Regions from separate parts of the Homo sapiens genome. Here region 1 is linked to region 2. The links are contacts of gene promoters, found by promoter capture Hi-C in human tissues and cell types (Jung and others, 2019). All regions are on one chromosome and are shown on one strand. Each heading gives the region's core, a stretch centred on a gene start or on the middle of the fragment in contact. The rest is flanking DNA. Distances are from core to core; before and after follow the strand shown. Region 1 has its middle 3.3 kb from the start of CDC42. Region 2 holds the start of C1QA (complement C1q A chain).

What was found. The method cuts DNA at HindIII sites, captures the fragments that hold promoters and counts their contacts. A contact is called where the count stands out against the background at its distance.
Region 1: a contact is called between a fragment that was not itself captured here and the fragment with the promoter of C1QA in region 2, in 3 of the 25 tissues and cell types used here (adrenal gland, dorsolateral prefrontal cortex and mesenchymal stem cells).

The regions. Positions count from the first base shown.
Region 1 is chr1:22,048,075-22,050,779 of GRCh38, reverse strand. No RefSeq gene overlaps it. Among named protein-coding and RNA genes, the nearest start is that of CDC42, 3.3 kb to the left of the region's middle. The HindIII fragment of the contact is 4,522 bases long and covers 1-2,705 here.
Region 2 is chr1:22,634,828-22,637,877 of GRCh38, reverse strand. C1QA (complement C1q A chain) reads right to left here and starts at 1,250. Exons shown (of 3, transcript NM_015991.4): 1 at 1,176-1,250; 2 at 99-268. The coding sequence starts at 261. The HindIII fragment of the contact is 11,741 bases long and covers 1-2,253 here.

The sequences.
Region 1 (2,705 bases), core at 51-2,550, 590 kb after region 2:
CCCAGCTAATTTTTGTATTTTTAGTAGAGACGGGGTTTCACCATATTGGCCAAGCTGGTCTTGAACTCATGACTTTGTGATCCACCTGCCTTGGCCTCCCAAAGGGCTGCGATTACAGGTGTAAGCCACCGCACCCAGCCCTCTTTTGGATTTTTTAATTACCCAAAAATAAGAACTACATTTTTTAGTGTTTACTGCAGGTATGGCTAATAGCTTTGCAGGTAGTAGTAGCTAATTTAATACTCACAGCCACCCTATGAGTTAAGAACTGTTACCCCCACTTTATGGTTACATGAACTGAAGCTCAGAGGTGTTAAGAGACTTGTCCATAGCCGCCATGCCAAGCAGTGGCAGAGCTGAGACTTGCACTCAGGAGGCTGGCTCTAGTTGACTATGACACTACCACACTATCAAGCAGGTTTATTATAGAGAAATTAGAAGATAAGCTTCAGGCCAGGCACAGTGGCTCACATCTGTAATCCCAGCACTTTGTGAGGCTGAGGCTGGTGGATCACCTGAGGTCAGGAGTTGAAGACCAGCCTGACCAACATGGTAAAACCCCATCTGTACTAAAAAACACACACACAAAAATTTGCTCGGTGTGGTGGCAGGTGCCTGTAATCCCAGCTACTTGGGAGGCTGAGGCAGGAGAATCATTTGAATCCAGGAGGCGGAGGTTGCAGTGACCCCGAGATCATGCCATTGCACTCCAGCCTAGGCGACAAAAAAGTGAAACTCTGTCTCAAAAAAAAAAAAAAAAAAAAGCCAGGTGCGGTGGCTCACGCCTGTAATTCCAGCACTCCGGGAGGCCGAGGTGGGCGGATCACTTGAGGTCAGGAGTTCAAGACTAGCCTGACCAACATGGTGAAACCCTTTCTCTACTAAAAATACAAAAATTAGCTGGGTGTGGCATGCACTTGTATTCGCAGCTACTCGGGAGGCTGAGACAGGAGAATCGCTGGAACCTGGGAGGCAGAGGTTGCAGTGAGCCGAGATTGCGCCATTGCACTCTAGCCTGGGCAACAAGAACAAAACCCCACCTAAAAAAAAAAAACAGGAAGATAAGCTTCAGCTGTAGTCCTACCTCTAATGTGGCTCACACCTATAATCCTAACACTTTGGGAGGCCGAGGCGGGTGGATCACTTGAGCCCAGGAGTTCAAGACCAGTCTGGGCAACATAGCAAGACCTGCCCCCACCCATCTCTACAAAAAATACAAAAACAAAACAAAACAAAAAAACTACATTGTGAACATCTTTCCATGTCAAATAAAGCATCATTTGTAAAGGCTGCATTTTACTCTCCGGGCATTGCAATATTTACCCAGACTCCTACTGTTGGAATTTGGGTTGTTTTGGGCTATTGTGAATTTATTACTATTGTAAAAATGCATAAGCTTCATTTTTTAAACTTGAGGGGAAAATGGTTGTTTCTTCCCTTCACAAGTCCAGCTGGCAGTGCCCTTTCCTTCATCCTGTCTCACAATCCCATGAATGTCCCCAGACAACGTCTGCCCTTTCCAGTAGCAGCAATATCTTGATGGGGTGTCACCCAACTGTTCAGCTTTTCCTGCCTTTATTCTGAGGACAAGGACTTACTTAGCACTATGTCTTTTATGTTGTCAGGTTTTTTGTCAGAAGAACCCTCCTAGACCTTTTCACAGCCCCAAACAGCAGTGGCAATGGTGTTACTATTACTTGACCCAATCTACCATGTCCCTCACTGCTGGCCCAGCCCCCAGCCTCCTAGTGCCTCCCCGCTACTGCCCCACTGCTATAGCTGCCTCATGTTAACAGGAGGGACAGCCTGTGGGACTCCGGCTCCCTTCCCGGTGGCTACCATTCCGGTGTCCATTCTTCCTTCTGGTAACAGCACTTCCATTTCTCCTAGAGCAGCCCCTGCCCCAACTCTCAATCCATGTGGCTCTAGAGATGACACTATCTCTAGTTGCGGGAATGGACACGTGACCCAGGCTTGGCCAATCACAGCATTATAGAGAGCCCTGTTGCCACACCATTTCAGCAACAGGCATGTGACCCAATGAGATTTAATTCTGGAACTTTGGTCACAACTATTCAGTTCAGTGAATCTCTGTTTGCTGAGAGTAGGATGTAATCGTGGCACTGCTGGCAGCCAGCTTCCCACTGCAAGCAGAGATGCTGCCTGAGAATGAGACCAAGACAGAGGGGGAAACAGAACTGAGAGATGGAGACATGAAACCAAGTCCCAGTGGCATTGCATGAGACATCAGATCCAGTCTTGCTTCAATCTTCAGTCACATTAGCAATAAATTCCCTCTATTGCCTGAACGAGGTTGAGTAGGTTTCTGTTGCTTATGACTGCCAAACTCTTGATGAATCACTGCCACCCCTGCCCTGCTTGTCTGCCCATGAGGTACTTGTCCCTACCCTCTAGGTAATAACTCCCAAATCTATACCTCTTCCAACCCCTATTCCCACCCCCAATTTTTTTTTTTTTTTTTTTTTTTTTGAGACAGAGTCTCACTCTGTCAACCAGGCTGGAGTGCAATGGTGCGATCTCAGCTCACTGCAACCTCCCCTCCCAGGTTCAAGTGATTCTCCTGCCTCAGCCTCCCGAGTAGCTGGGATTGCAGGCAACTGCTACCATGCCCAGCTAATTTTTGTATTTTTTAGTAGAGATGGGGTTTCACCATGTTGGCCAGGCTGGTCTCAAACTCCTGACTA
Region 2 (3,050 bases), core at 1-2,500:
AGACGGACTCCTGATTCTCAGTGCCACCCCAAGCCTTCACCCTGGAGGCCAAGTCAGGCCAAGGTCCAAGGGGCTGGGTCCCGAGGAAGGGTGCTTACCCGGCTCCCCTTGCTCCCCCTTGAGGCCTGGCCGCCCCCGTCTGCCAGGTCTTCCTGCCTCCCCTTTCTTCCCGTCTGGTGCTCGGCACAAGTCCTCGGTCACCATAGAGGCCAGCGATATGGCCAGCACACAGAGCACCAGCCATCCCCGGGGACCCTCCATGATGCCTCTGTGGAGACACGGGAGGGCCTGGGCAGGTTGGACATCACACTCACACCCAGCTCCCACCCTTGAGTCCCATGCACACAATGATATATGCACAGTCCTCCCCAAGTGCACATGCACCCTCTGGGGCTCTCAATGTCCACTCTCAATCCAGCCCCAGGACCCCACGCATATACACAGAACCACAAACTCACACACATCCACACATGCAACAGAGCACACCCACATCTTCACACACTCACACAAACACAGCTCTCATCCACGCACCTACAAAACACAGTAGGCAAACTCAGAAATCCACTATACCCCCCTAGACACACAACTGATACCCAAATAGACCCTGTCCCTCACTTGCACGGACACACACATTCATACACTCCCACAGGTAATCGATTTCATTGAACAAATATGTATTGAGCGCCTGCTCCTTATTTAATTAACACTGGCTCACCCAGATGGTGGAGCTCTGCATACACACAGGAATTCACAAACGCCCAAAGCGACACCTGCTCACTCTTCTGCATGCTCAGCGCCTTTCAGCATCCACCTGAGCATGGGTGACTGGCTGCCCCTACAGTCCCCTCTGCTGGGTCCCACTGCCAGCTCTAGCACCCCAGGCTTTTCCTGGTTTCTTATGTGTTATGGGGCCAGGACCCAGGAACCCTGGTCTTACCCTTCAGTTGTTAGGTCTAACTCATCGCCTCTCACCCTCCCCCAAGCCCTGGCTCAAGGAGTTAAGGTCCCTCCACTCACCCATTCTGGGTCCTGGATCAGTGCTGCACCCCCATCCCTGTCCTAGAATCAGGCACAGTTATTTCCCTCCCTCCCTGCCTCAGCTGCCCAGCCTCCTGGGCCAGCTCCCCTGGGTCCCAGAACTCTGCAGCCCCCTCCCTCTGGGACTCTGGCCTCACCTGCCTCCTGTTGTCAACTCCAACTGGATGCTCCTGCCCTCCGCCCAGGGACCCTGTGGGCTGCCCAGCAGGAGTGGCTCCAGGCTGTGGCCAAGTTTCACATCCCTTCCTACTTCCCCTTCTTCAGACCTGCCCCCTGAACTTCCCCAGTGGCCAGAAGCTCACCAGGGACATTTCAAGCAGACTTCAGCAAGACTGGGACATTGGGCGTCCTGCCCCAGCAACAGCTGGTGTGGGAGTGGGGGCAGTGAGGCCAGTGCCTGTGAGGATGTGGGGTGGAGGCCGTGCAGGGTGAGGTTCTGAGAACCAGCGAAGCACAGAACACCAGAGCGGAAGGAATCTTTAAAAAAATCTGTCCCTTGTAGGACTTTTCATGATTATGAAAGTGACATGCAATTCATTGCCAAAAGCTTGGAAAATACAAAGAAGAAAGAACAGTGCATTGGTGAGAAGGAAGCACAGCAATCTGTTTCTAGACTTGCTGCTTCCTAGTTGCATGTCTTTGGGAAATTACTTGACCTCCTGAGCCCTCAGTTTTATCTGTACACTGGGAACGGGGTCCTATATCATCTGATTATTATAACATTTTAATGACTTGCACATACAAAACACTTGGCACATGGTGAACACTTAGTCACTAGCTTTTGCCAACATTTAAAAAAACAGCAAGTCTAGGTGCTTTGGCTCACGCCTGTAATCCCAGCATTTTGGGAGGTCAAGGCAGGCGGATCACTTGAGGTCAGGAGTTCGAGACCAGCCTGGCCAACATGGTGAAACTCCATCTCTACTAAAAATTTAAAAAATAGCCAGGTGTGGTAGCATGCACCTGTGTAGTCCCAGCTATTTGGGAGGCTGAGCTGGGAGGATTGCTAGAGCCCAGGAGGTTGAGGCTGCAGTGAGCTTTGATCTTACCACTGCACTCCTGCCTGGGAGACAGAACAAGACCCCATCTCAAAAAAAAAAAAAAAAAAAAGAGATGGCAATGGCGGGCCGTCTGGAATGGCTGCTGTCATCACACTGGCTGCAGCAGGGAGGCACGGCCAGGGCTGCATGCTCCATGTAGCCAGTGGGAGCTGGGGACAGTGGGAACCCCGCCCTCCTGGGAACCACTGCAGCTGCCAAACCACAGCTGATCCTGCTTCATGGAGCAGGTGGGGGCCCCCGCCATCCCCCATGCAGCTGCAGCTGCCTAAACTGCAGCTGTGGACCCAGGCATCCCTGCAATCTTGGGGGCCCGGGAAGGCCCCCCGCCCCACCCTTCAGGCTCAGAAGTGTCTGCTCCCACTGCCTGGCTTCTCCCTCCTCTTGGCGCCCACTCTGATCTTAGAGCAAAGTTGGTGCTGAGCCTGGGTGCTGTCGCAGCCTGGCTGGGTGTGGGCATGCTTGGGGCAGTGCTGACACACTAGACCCCTGCTGCCTTGGCCCCCTCTGGACTTTGGGCACTGACTAGCATGGAAGGAAAGCCAAGGGGAAACTGAGGGCAGCTCGGCACTGGCCTGCAGACGCTCCTTGGCATGAACAGCCTGGGCACCATGAACAGCAGCAGGAGACAGACAGGCTCCTGGGTGGAAGGGGATGGGTCCCTGGTGAGGCCCTACCTTCAAGCCAGGGAGGGCCTCAAGGCTGGGGGCCAGGCTGCCAGTCCCACACACCAGAGTGGGAACTTATGGTGTATTTTCTGGGCTTGCCTATAGCCACCCATGGACCAATCAGTATGCACTTCCTCCTCTCTGAGGCTCATGAAAGCTTCAGGCTCAGCCAGAGCTGGGCAGACATTGGATGACCAGCTGCCGAGAGGAGCTACCCGCTCCAGGGCCTCCTCTCTGCTGAGAGCTGCAGAGATGGCAGAACAACTTGCCTGCAGAAAGGAGCTTC